Linked DNA regions of Homo sapiens: all the other regions are linked to region 3. The links are contacts of gene promoters, found by promoter capture Hi-C in human tissues and cell types (Jung and others, 2019). All regions are on one chromosome and are shown on one strand. The core of a region is centred on a gene start or on the middle of the fragment in contact, and the rest is flanking DNA. Distances in the headings are between cores, read along the strand shown.

The links. Contacts are between HindIII fragments. The study calls those that stand out against the background at their distance.
Region 1: a contact is called between a fragment that was not itself captured here and the fragment with the promoter of OR6J1 in region 3, in 2 of the 25 tissues and cell types used here (neural progenitor cells and spleen).
Region 2: a contact is called between a fragment that was not itself captured here and the fragment with the promoter of OR6J1 in region 3, in 2 of the 25 tissues and cell types used here (mesenchymal stem cells and spleen).

Annotation. Positions count from the first base shown.
Region 1 is chr14:22,607,741-22,611,843 of GRCh38, reverse strand. ABHD4 (abhydrolase domain containing 4, N-acyl phospholipase B) reads right to left here. Exons shown (of 7, transcript NM_022060.3): 6 at 1,934-2,120; 7 at 1-985. The coding sequence ends at 896. Among named protein-coding and RNA genes, the nearest start is that of ABHD4, 11 kb to the right of the region's middle. The HindIII fragment of the contact is 9,196 bases long and covers 1-4,103 here.
Region 2 is chr14:22,684,381-22,688,652 of GRCh38, reverse strand. No RefSeq gene overlaps it. Among named protein-coding and RNA genes, the nearest start is that of OR6J1, 42 kb to the right of the region's middle. The HindIII fragment of the contact is 3,462 bases long and covers 998-4,272 here.
Region 3 is chr14:22,642,093-22,646,514 of GRCh38, reverse strand. OR6J1 (olfactory receptor family 6 subfamily J member 1) reads left to right here and starts at 2,163. Exons shown (of 2, transcript NM_001348233.2): 1 at 2,163-2,417. The HindIII fragment of the contact is 14,040 bases long and covers 1,508-4,422 here.

The DNA of each region.
Region 1 (4,103 bases), core at 1-2,500, 34 kb after region 3:
TCAGAGGCCTCCAGTTGGGAGGAAGATGGGGCAAGGAAGGAAGCACTTGAGTGTCCCTAGCTTAGGCAGCCGGGGATGAGACACAGGCAGGACAACAGCACCCCCGCATAGTGGGGCTAGAATGTGGGACAGGGACGGGCTTATCCTCGGCCAGTGACTAGGACCAGCCCCATGGCAATGGTGCCTGTCTCCAGCCTTAGCAAATCAAGTGTGCAACAAGCACAGGGTGTCGGCAGACCTGGGCTCTAGCCTTACAAGCTCTGCCAGAACTTGAATCACACAGAGCTGTATCACCATGGTCCAGCCATGTCCTGCCTTGGCCTGTTTCCTCCTCTGTCAATGAGGGCTTTGAATAAGACCTCCTAGGTCATGAAAAGGACTCTGCAGGTGAAGGGAACTCCAGGACCTGCTCTTGGCAGTTAAGCAGACCCTGGATGGAACTGGTATGGGATGGGGTGAAGTGGGGGATGGAGGAGGAAGGTGTTCTTGCATGGAACCTATCCCCACAAACACTACAGAGTGAGGAAAGGCCACTGGAAGCCCTTCTTTGCCCAGAGGAAGAAAGGCCACAGAGAGAGTGAATGTGGCTTGGTGCAATCCCTTCACATCCTCCACCATCTGGGTAACACTTGGCAAGGAGTGGATGGGTGGCATTGTGCAACCCTTTATGTTCTTCCCTGGGGGTGGCACTCAAGGCCTCTTGTGGCTTCTGCCTTCAGCCTTCAGTGTAGGGTCAAGAGTGTTCTTTTCACTGTCGTCCTGTTCTGGGAACAGCACAAGACTCTGCCTGGCTGGCACATGTTAGTTGGTGAGGAAAGGACAGAGTGGGTGAGTAAGCAGACAGGGAGGTAAGAGTGACTCTCTGGCTTTCTCCTCTTCCTCTTCAGAGAGCAGCTCAATCAACTGAGTCGCAGATCTCCTCCACCACAGCATTGAAGATGTGTGGCTGGTCAGCATAGACATGGTGGGAGGCACCCTTAATCTCCTGTGGAGAGAGAACCCGCAGGGGTGGGATGGCCTTTTATTCCTGGTGCTGGGAAGCCTTCACGCTATTTCTTTTCCCCTTAGACTTGCTTGCCTGCCACCCACGAGCTCTTATCAGAGATAATGCTCCACCTTTCTCGCTTGGATCTTGGTATTTTCCTTTGACAGCCAATGCTTTCCCATTCTACTTACTTGATAAACATTCACTGTGTCTTTCCTTCTGTGTTAGCCCCACCACTGATCTGCTCATTTAATCCAAAGGTCCAGTAAACCTGGGCCCATGGTTGGCACCCAGCCTCATTAAGCACACTCATTGGCACATGGCGGAGAGGGGTAAGAAAAAAGGGGAGGAGGTGTGGTGGGGAAGCTTCATGGCAGCCTCTACTATTCACTCTACTGCCCATGGCTCTGGTTTTGGGGTAGAAACTACATGGGGGCTGGAGTAGCAGCAGGTGCCTGGCTGCTAGACAAGAACCAGCCTTTTAGCTGAACTGGGCTAAAAGCAGGAAGCCCCTAATGAAGGTAGTACAATACGAGCACTTTGGGAGGCCAAGGTGGGCGGATCACGTGAGGTCAGGAGTTCGAGACCAGCCTGACCAACATGGAGAAACCTCGTCTCTACTAAAAATACAAAATTAGCTGGGCGTGGTGGCGCATGCTAATAATCCCAGCTACTCGGGAGGCTGAGGCAGAAGAATCGCTTGAACCCGGGAGGCGGAGGTTGCAGTGAGCCGAGATTGTACCATTGCCCTCCAGCCTGGGCAACAATAGCGAGACTCCATCACGAAAAAAAAAAGATATTCCAAAGAGAGTTTCCAAACTTCTCAAATCTACTGCTCTATCTCAGTCTGTCCATTCCTCTTTCTCCTTGATCACCCTTCTCTACCCCAAGGCTGAGAGGTGATTGACTCTCAGTCATCATTTCCACTCCTTGGGTGGTGCAACATACCATGTCTCGGACATAGGAATCCGGCCGCTGCATCTTCACCTTTTTTCCCGTACTGGTATCTATCCAGGTGTCGGACCCGTAGATCATAGTGATAGGCACATCTTTTCGAATCAAGTGAATTCGCTCCAGCATAGGGCGCCGGGCCCAGCCAAAGGACTCCATCATGGCTTTGAATGCTGTCTCACCACTGTCAAAAGCAAAACAGCAATAAACTTCACAGCAGAATATGTCAACTTGTTGGTCTCTTCAGAGACTGAGGCAGAATCTTAGTCACCTTTGTATTCCTGTCAAAGCCCCACACTGGGCTCATTAAATATTGGTAAGATTAGGGGAAGACCAAAATTCCAGAGGCCTCCCATCACAGAAGAGTTCGGAGGAACACTTGTGAAAAACCCCATGGCAGTACGAACTGTCCAAGAATCTGAGAATGAAATGGGTTATTATTGACTCAACAAATATTCTGTCATGCCCTGGACTGGGAAAGGGGACATATGAACAAGAAAGGCAGGATGCTGTCCCTCCTGGAGCTCACACACTTTAGCTCATGTGTTAGGGAGGTAGGCATTAAGTAACTAATCATATGATTAATTGTTATTTAATTTAAAATTTCTTGGGCTGGGCACGGTGGCTCACACCTGTAATCCCAGCACTTTGGGAGGCCGAGGCGGGCGGATCATTTGAGGTCAGGGGTTTAAGACCAGCCTGGCCAACATGGTGAGACCCTGTCTCTACTAAAAATACAAAAATTAGCGGGGCGTGGTGGTGCGCTTCTGTAATCCCAGCTACTCAGGAGGCTGAGGTAGGAGAATTGCTTGAGCCTGGGAGACAGAGGTTGCAGTGAGCCAAGATCACGCCACTGCACTCTAGCCTGGGTGACAGAGCGAGACTCTGTCTCAAAAAAACAAACGAACAGCCAGGCATGGAGGCTCATGCCTATAATCCCAGCACTTTGGGAGGCTGATGCGGGCAGATCACCTGAGGTCGGGAGTTCGAGACCAGCCTGGCCAACATGGTGAAACCCATCTCTACTAAAAATACAAAATTAGCCAGGCATGGTGGTGCATGCCAGCAATCCCAGCTACTTGGGAGGCTGAGGCAGGAGAATCGCTTGAACCTGGGAGGCAGAGGTTGCAGTGAGCCGAGATCGTGCCATTGCACTCCAGCCTGGGCAATGAGCAAACCTCCATCTCAAAAACAAACAAACAAACAAACAAAAAACAACTTAAAATTTCCCAAGAAGGATGAAAAGGTGGTCGAGTGCTATGAAAACACAGACTGGGGATTTAGCCTGTTGGGGGTCTAGAGACATGGTCAGAAGTTCATCTGAGGTGAACGCTTAAAAGTGAGTACTATAGTAGTAAAAAGGGCTTCCTGAGAAGACTCTGGAATTAAAAATCAGTCTTCCAAGGGCTGGGGGAGCAGCAGTTTCTGTTAAGCAAGAAACAACAAATGCCAATGTAATCTATTTCACTCCCCGGTCATTTGCTCAGGTAGAATGAATTGAGGCCGTATCATGAGGTGTCCACAAGGCTGGGGCAGAGCCAGCTTTCTGGGGCTGGTCTGCAGCTTCTGCTAGAGATAGGGCAGGTTGGGGACACTGCTGCCTCCTAGGCTTGGCCTGTTTAGTACCATCAGATCTCCATTCTCTTTTACATGTACAGATGAAAGGGAACCTGAGTTCTGCCCAGGCCATCAGAAATAAATTTTTCCTTAAGATACTGCAGCACGGCAGAAAAAGCATGGAATTTGGAGTCAAATGAATTCAAATCCTCAGCTGTGTTTTCTTAGCAAGTCATGTAACCAGAATATACTTTAGTTTCCTCATCTATAAATGTAGAGTATTATACCTACTTCACTAGGACATCATTAGGAAAATAAAAATATATACAAAGCCCCTAAGTTTAGGTGAGATGAAGTAGATACCCTCAAACATGTTGGTCAAATTTCATGTTTTCCAAGGAAATGATAAGAGTTACCATGAGCTTGTCAGGGTTACAAAGTCAAAAAACTCAGGGAGTTACAAAATTGAGTGACGGTGTTTGGGGGTGAGGGAGCTGGTTGTCACTGATGTCACCTTTGCTTCCTCTGGGATGTGAATGAATTATAAACTTATATACTCTGTGGCTTAGGTTGGGAGGACATTGTACAGAACTAGGTCTGGGATGGGGAA
Region 2 (4,272 bases), core at 1,479-3,978, 42 kb before region 3:
TAGATGTCTAATAGGTCCGCTTGGTCCAGAGTTGAGTTCTAGTCCTGAATATCCTTGTTAATTTTCTGTCTCGTTAACCTGCCTAATATTGACAGTAGGGTGTTAAAGTCTCCCATTACTATTGTGTGGGAGTCTAAGTCTCTTTGTAGGTCTCTAAGAACTTGCTTTATGAATCTGGGTGCTTCTGTATTGGGTGCATATATATTTAGGATAGTTACCTCTTCTTGCTGCATTGATCCCTTTACCATTATGTAATGCCCTTCTTTGTCTCTTTTGATCTTTGTTGGTTTAAAGTCTGTTTTATCAGAGATTAGGATTGCAACTTGTGCTTTTTTTTGCTTTCCATTTGCTTGGTAAATATTCCTCCATCCCTTTATTTTGAGCCTATGTGTATCTTTGCACATGAGATGGGTCTCCTGAATACAGCACACTAATGGGTCTTGACTCTTTATCCAATTTGCCAGTCTGTGTCTTTTAATTGGCGCATTTAGCCCATTTACGTTTAAGGTTAAAATTGTTGTGTGTGAATTTGATCCTGTCAATATGAGGCTAGCTAGTTGTTTTGCCCATTAGTTGATGCAGTTTCTTCATTGTGCCAATGTTCTTTACAATCTAGTATGTTTTTGCAGTGGCTGGTACCAGTTGCTCCTTTCCACGTTTAGTGCTTCCTTCAGGAGCTCTTGTAAGGCAGGCCTGGTGGTGACAAAATCTCTCAGCATTTGCTTGTCTGTAAAGGATTGTGTTTCTCCTTCGCTTATGAAGCTTAGTTTGGCTGGATATGAAATTCTGGGTTGAAAATTCTTTTCTTTAAGAATGTTGAATATTGGACCCCACTCTCTTCCGACTTGTAGAGTTTCTGCAGAGAGATCTGCTGTTAGTCTGATGGGCTTCCCTTTGTGGATAACCCGACCTTTCTCTCTGGCTGCCCTTAAAATTTTTTCCTTCATTTCAACCTTGGTGAATCTGAGAATTATGTGTCTTGGAGTTGCTCTTCTCAAGGAGTATCTTTGTGGTGTTCTCTGTATTTCCTGAATTTGAATGTTGGCCTGTCTTGCTAGGTTGGGGAAGTTCTCCTGGATAATAATCCTGAAGAGTGTTTTCCAACTTGGTTCCATTCTCCTCATCACTTTCAGGACACCAATCAAACACAGATTTGGTTTTCACATAGTCCTGTATTTCTTGGAGGCTTTGTTCATTCCTTTTTTTCCTTTTTCTCTAATCTTGTCTTCAAGCTTTATTTCATTAAGTCGATCTTCAATCACTGATATCCTTTCTTCTGCTTGATTGATTCAGCTATTGAAACTTGTGTATGCCTCACAAAGTTCTCATGCTGTGTTTTTCAGCTCCATCAGGTCATCTATGTTCTTTTCTACACTGGTTATTCTAGTTAGTAATTCATCTAACCTTTTTTCAAGGTTCTTAGCTTCCTTGCATTGGGTTAGAACATGCTCCTTTAACTTGGAGGAGTTTGTTATTACCCACCTTCTGAAGCCTTCTTCTGTCAATTCATCAAACTCATTCTCCATCCAGTTTTGTTCCCTTGCTGGCGAGGAGTTGTGATCCTTTGGAGGAGAAGAGGCATTCTGGTTTTTGGAATTTTTGACCTTCTTGTTCTTGTTTCTCCCCATCTTTGTGGATTTATCTACCTTTGGTCTTTGATGTTGGTGACCTTTGGATGGGGTCTTTGAGTGGATGTGCTATTCCTGTTTGTTAGTTTTCCTTCTGACAGTCAGGCCCCTTTGCTACCAGTCTGTTGGAGTTTGCTGGAGGTCCACTCCCAACCCTGTTTCCCTGGGTATCACCAGAGGATGCTGCAGAACAGCAAAGATTGCTGCCTGGTCTTTCCTCTGGAAGCTTCGTCCCAGAGGGGCACCTCCTAGATGCCAGCCAGAACTCTCCAGTATGAGGTGTCTGTTGGCCCCTACTGGGAGGTGTCTCCCAGTCAGGATACATGGGGGTCGGGGACCCACTTGAGGAGGCAGTCTGTCCCTTAGCAGAGCTTGAATGCTATGCTGGGAGGTCCACTGCTTTCTTCAGAGCTGTCAGGCAGAGACGTTTAAGTCTGCTGAAGCTGTGCCCACAGCTGCCTGTTTTCCCAGGTGCTCTGACCCAGGGAGATGGGGGTTTTATCTGTAAGTCCCTGACTGGGGCTGCTACCTTTTTTTTCAGAGATGCCCTGCCCAGAGAAGGGACGTCTGGCCACAGCAGCCTTGCTGAGCTGCAGTGGGCTCCGCCCAGTTTGAACTTCCCAGTGGCTTTCTTTATACTGTGAGTGTAAAACCACCTACTCAAGCCTCAGCAATGGTGGACGCCCCTCCCCCCACCAAGCTCGTGTCTCAGGTTGATCTCAGACTGCTGCTGTGCTGGCAGTGAGAATTTCAAGCTAGTGGATCTTAGTTTGCTGGGCTCTGTGGGGGTGGGACCCACCAAGCTCGATCACTTGGCTCCCTGGCTTCAGCACCCCTTTCCAGGGGAGTGAATGGCTCTGTCTCGCTGGCATTCCAGGCACCACTGGGGTATGGAAAAAAAGAACTCCGGCAGCTAGTTTGGTGTCTGCCCAAATGGCTGCCCAGTTTTGTGCTTGAAACCCAGGGCCCTGGTGGGGTAGGCACCGGAGGGAATCTCCTGGTTTGCGGGTTGCAAAAACCATGGGACAAGCACAGTGTCTGTACCAGAGTTCCTCAGGCTCAGTGCCTCATGGCTTCCTTTGGGTGGGGCAGAAAATTCCCTGACCCGTTGTGCTTCCCAGGTGAGATGGCTCCCCACCCTGCTTCAGCTTGCCCTCCATGGGCTGCACCCACTGTCCAACCAGTCCCAGTGAGATGAACCGGGTACCTAAGTTGGAAATGCAGAAATCCCCCACCTTCTGCATCAGTCTCTCTGGCAGCTGCAGACCGGAGCTGTTCCTATTCGGCTATCTTGCCAGTAAATCTCTCTCTTTTTTTTTTTTTTTCCCAAGAAGACTGAGCTCTGCATTGATGTGATTAAGTCACACCTCAGGGTTCCTTTGGGCCCTTCACAGTAACTGTGCATCCCTTCAGAGTAATGCCAACATTTTCTGGAATGTTGACAGTCTGATTGCTGAGAATGATCTTCATTCTCTCAGTAGATGCGGCAAAGGAAAAACATCTTCAATGTTATTATGGGGGATAAGGACTTATTCTTGCCATTTTATTATTTGTTTTCTGGTCTTCTCTTTCTTCTTTCTTTTCTTTCTATCTTCCTTTTGGTGAAGGTGGTTTTCTCTGGTGATATAATTTAGTTTCATGCTTTTTCTTTTTGTGTATCTGTTATATGGTTTTTGTTTTGAGATTACCATAGGGCTTGCAAATACTATCTTATAAGCCATTATTTTAAGCTGATAACAACTTAACAATGTTTGCATTAACAAATGAGCAAACAAGCAAAAATAAAATTAATAAAGACTCTATGCCTTAACTTTGTCCCCCCATGTTTTAACTTTTTGTTGTTACTATTAATTCATACCTTATTTGTACTATGTCTTGAAGTTATTACTTTTTGTTCAGTTCATCTTTTCACATAAAATACTACTAATACTAAACTACTCACATCTTTCTACTTAAGATCTTTCTACTTAAGATGTGAGTAGTTTAAACATCACAATTACAGAGTTATAATATTCTGTGTACTTACTATTACTAATGAGTTTTGTACCTTCAGATGATTGCTTATTAACATCATTTTCTTTCTGATTGAAATATTCCCCTTAGCATTTCTTGTAAGACAGGTCTGATGTTGATGAAATCCCTCAGCTTTTGTTTGTCGGGGAAAGTCTTTATTTCTTCTTCATATTTGAAGGATATTTTTTGCCAGATATACTATTCTAGGGTAAAAATTTTTTTCCTTCTGCACTTTAAATATGCCATGCCACTCTCTCCTGACCTGTGAAGTTTCCACTGAGAAGTCTGCTGTCAGATATATTGGAGCTCTGTTGTATGTTATTTGTTTGTTTTATCTTGCTCCTTTTAGGACTCTTTCTTTGTCCTTGACCTTTGGCAATTTGATTATTAAATGCCTGGAGGTAGTCTTCTTTGGGCTAAATCTGTTTGGTGTTCTATAACCTTCTTGTACTTGGATATTGATAGCTTTCTCTAGGTTTGGGAAGTTCTCTGTTATTATCCCTTTGAATAAACTTTCTACCCCATCTCTTTCTCTACCTCTTCTTTGGGGCCAATAACTCTGAGATTTGAGGCTATTTTCTAGATCCTGTAGGTGTGCTTCATCTTTTTTTTTTCTTTTTGAGATGGAGTT
Region 3 (4,422 bases), core at 914-3,413:
AGAAGGATTTCTGGGGTGCTAGTACCATTCTGTTTCTTCACCAGGGTGGTGGTTACATGAATGTGTTCACTTTATTGATAATTCATTGAGCTTATGATTTGTATACTTTTCTGTACATGTGTTATATTTAAATTAAAAAAGGTTAAAAACACTCCAGTTCTACACTGTGGATTCCTGATTCCAAGTGCAAGAAAAGGATATCTAAAGAGGGAGAACCTAGCTTAGGCTAGGAAAAGGGACAAGAGTAGGGCCTAGAGACTAGGCGGTGGAGAAGATGGTCCCAATGGTAGGACACTTGGGGCCCGAGTGTGCAGTAAGAAAGTGAGGGCCAGCGTGGGGCACAGTGAATAGAGTGGCTCAACCGAAGTAAAAGATGCGCAAGGTGATGTGTAAGACAGGAGCTGAGTCTGGGCGGTAATTCAAGGGAGACTGGGATTAGGGGGTCTTGAGTGCCAGGCTATGCAGTGTGGGACCTTTTGTTTCACATAGTGCAAGGTTACTGAAGCTTTGGCATATTGATCACAGTGTATTAGGATGTTGAAGAGGAGGGTCCTGGGTAAATGGAGTGGTAGGGATGGATGGAACTGTCACAGTGGGGCTGGAGAGGGGGTGGATGGAGGACTGTATGCTGTGAGGCTCTCTGAGATAGGCCTGGGGGTGTTGATCTTGGCTAGTGTTCTGTTCCCAGTTCTTGTTAGTGTAGATGTTTAGGTTTGCATCCTTTCCTAAGTGGGCCTCAGGGGCATCAGACTCAGGCTTGGTGTTCAGGGACAGCTTCGTAATGTGCCCCTGAGGAGTGCCCCATGTTTGGAGGTTTCTCAGAAAGTGCATGCTCTCACCTGAGCCAATCCCACCCCAACCCTCCCAAGTGGGGTCCAAACATGGGACCCTTCTAGAGTATGCCCCCTTCAGCCCTGACAGTGCAGAGTCTGTTTGCAGCAACGCAAGCCTCAGCGCCCAGCACGGAAGCCTGGGGCAGCTGTGTGGGCAGGATATGCTGGGGGCCAGCCCCCTCTACCTTATTTAGGCAAATGTGAGTATTTCTGAGTCCTCCCGCTGAATCCCTTCCAGCTTACTGACTCCTCTGTAGAGTGCAGATGGTGGAGGACAGGAAGTAGTTTCTTCATTTCCAGGAATCCTGGGCAACCGAAATTCCCATGTAGAGAAGCATCTTCCCTTTGTCTTCACACTTTGTAGCCAACCAGATATGCTGTCCAAGGGGAGAATAGTTGATTAAGGCAGAAGCATGGGCCTGATGAGATGTATTCCAGAGCCAGAAGGGACAGTATTCTTCCCTCTAGGGTGGGATGATCAATATCTCAGTAGGGACAAGGAAGATAAGGTTTGTTCTTTTCCAGTATTGCAGAATAGGAGGGGTTCTAGAAAATAAAGCAATATGGTGTTTTATGATTTCACACATCATATGAATTATCATACATTTGTTCTTCACGATCCTTGGCAATGATCGATTATCATATGAGTTATCTTATTTTCCGTTTTGTGCTTCTCAACCTCATGAGGAAGAGGAGGAAAAGAGCATTACCGCTGTTTGTCACATGAGGATTCATTTGCAGATAGTATGAAAATGGAGGCAATTTTTCCAGTCTCAAGAATGGTAAAAGGCACAGGTGGGACTTGAACCCAGACTCTTGGCTTCAAGTCCAGAGTTTTCTCATGCACCAGCTACCCCTCAACAGGATTTGACTATCCTGCAGTAACCCTAGAGGAAGTTTAGTCCTTGGGACGCTTGGCCTGCCAGTCTCTGAAAAAAATATGATGGGGATGGTGGTGGTGGTAGTGCACGTTGGGTTGAGGGGACAGAGGAAGAAGCAGGTTGATGGCTGTTGTCCATCAGGTAACACAGTGTTTCTTTTCCCATTTTCTCTGGAATCAAGAAGCACCCAGAAGACTGGGCTGAGCAGAAGACTGGAGAGGGTGCAGGAAAGATGGTAGCAGGAGAGGAGAATAAAGCACCATCCAGGAGCTTAGTGGAGAGTGCCCCTTTTCTCTCCCCAACTGGATCAGATTGTGTAGACAGTGTGGGAGGTGCAGCTGGTCAATGCTTAACCGAAGGTGATTTCCTCACACACTCAGGATTAGGGCAAGAGGATTTGTAGACCTCTCTATGCTGGAATGGATGTCATACCTTGTAACTTCCTCAGCAGTGTAAAAATCCAACATGTACCTTCCAGCTGTCTACAACACAAGTGCATGCTCGTCGGACAAGAGGTCACAGCTAAGGCAACAATCCACATGAGTTGGGAAGGGCTCATTTCACCTGTCAAACACTGCTGCTCTCATGTGGAATGCACTGTGGCTTTTTGGTCAAGATAATTACCGTGGAAGATCCTAGGTGGCAGCAAATCCCAGGTGAACAGACTGAGCCGTGGAGGTGGCATAAGGCAACCCTAGCCGAGGTGAGTGCAGACCAATCGTTTGGCATTTGGGGGCTGGCTGGGAGCAGCTGTTCCTGTTATAATCTCAGGTGTGTATCTTTGCCTTCATTAAGCTTCTTAATATTTCTGATGTGAGGAAATGATTTTCCAGTGGGTGCAGTTGCACCTTATGCAAAGATGTATTTTGAGAGTTAAATGAATTAAGTCTTGATCCCTCATCCTACCATTTCCAGATTTGGTGACCAAGTCCAAATTCATCCTCCATACTATTCTTCTAGATTTTACAGACTGTGCATATATCTACATTTAGTAACTGCTGTCTCTCTCTCTCTCTCTCTCTCTCTCTCTCTCTCTGTGTGTGTGTGTGTGTGTGTGTGTGTGTGTGTGTGTGTGTGTGTGTGTGTTTCTGCCATGCCAGGGGTCAGGGCTTCTTCTTGGGGCTGTGGCCTTTTCTCCTGCTACATTGGTTCTTTAAGATCCTTGGCAATGATCCATGCTATAACATAGATGAACCTTTACAAATATTATAGTAAGTGGCCTGCACCTGTAATCTCAGCACTTTGGGATGCTAAGACAGGAAGATCGCTTGAGCCCAGGAGTTCGAGACCAGCCTGGGCAATATGGCAAAACCCCTATCACTACAAAAAATACAAAAATTGGCCGGGCATGGTGGTGTGTGCCTGTAGTCCCAGTTACTTGGGAGTCTGAGGTGGGAGGATCACTTGAGCCTGGGAGGTCGAGGATGTAGTGAGTTATGATTGCACCACTGCACTCCAGCCTGGGTGACAGAGTGAGACCCTGTCTCAAAAAATAAAAAAAGTAAAATTATTTTCTAATTAAAAAAAAAATTAGGCTAGGCACGGTGGCTCACGCCTGTAATCCCAGCACTTTGGGAGGCCGAGGTGGATGGATCACTTGAAGTCAGGAGTTCGAGACCAGCCTGGCCAACATGGGGAAACCCTGTCTCTACTAAAAATACAAAAATCTGCTGGGCGTGGTGGCAGACGCCTGTAATCCCAGCTACTTGGGAGGCTGAGGCTGGAGAATCGCTTGAACCGGGGAGGCGGAGGTTGCAGTGACCAGAGATTGCACCATTGCACTCCAGCCTGGGTGACAAGAGTAAAACTCCATCTCAAAAAAAAAAAAAAATTATCCAGGTGTGATGGTGTGCACCTGTAGTCCTAGCTACTTGGGAGGCTGAGGCAGGAGGATCACTTGAGCCCAGGAGTTTGGGGCTGCAGTGAGCTATCTTCATGCCACTGCACTACAGCCTCACTGACAGAGCAGGACCCTGTCTCTAAAAAAAATTTAAAAATAAAAATAAAGAAAATATTATAGTAAGTGAAAGAAGCTAGATACAAAGGACCACATATGGTATGATTCATTTATATGAAATGTCCAGAATAGGCAAATCCATAGTCAGAAAGTAGAAAAATAGTTTCCAGGGAATGGAGGAGGGATCATTAAAATATCCTTAAATCTGCCAGGCATGGTGGCTTGTCCCTGTAATCCCAGCACTTTGGGAGGTCAAGGCGGGAAGATCATGAGGTCAGGAGTTGGAGACCAGCCTGACCAACACGGTGAAACCTCATCTCTACTACAAATACAAAAATTAGCTGGGCATGGTGGCACACGCCTGTAATCCCAGCTTACTCAGGAGGCTGAGGCAGGAGAATCGCTTGAACCCTGGAGGTGGAGGTTGCAGTGAGCTGAGCTCGTGCCACTGCACTCCAGCCTGGGTGACAGAGCGAGACTCCATCTCAAATATATATATATATATATATATATATATATATATATATATATTCTTAAGTTGATTGTGGTGATGGACACACAGTTTTGTGAATACACTAAAAGCTATTGAATTGTATATTTTAAATGGGTGGAATGTATGGTACTTGAGTTATATATCAATAAAGCTGTTAAGAAAGAAAAGATCCTTGGCAATGCAAATGTGGTGAGTTGTCTGGAGAGACTGTCCATGTGCCAAGGCTATAGGAAGGTAGGGCAGGTCGTGAGGACAGGT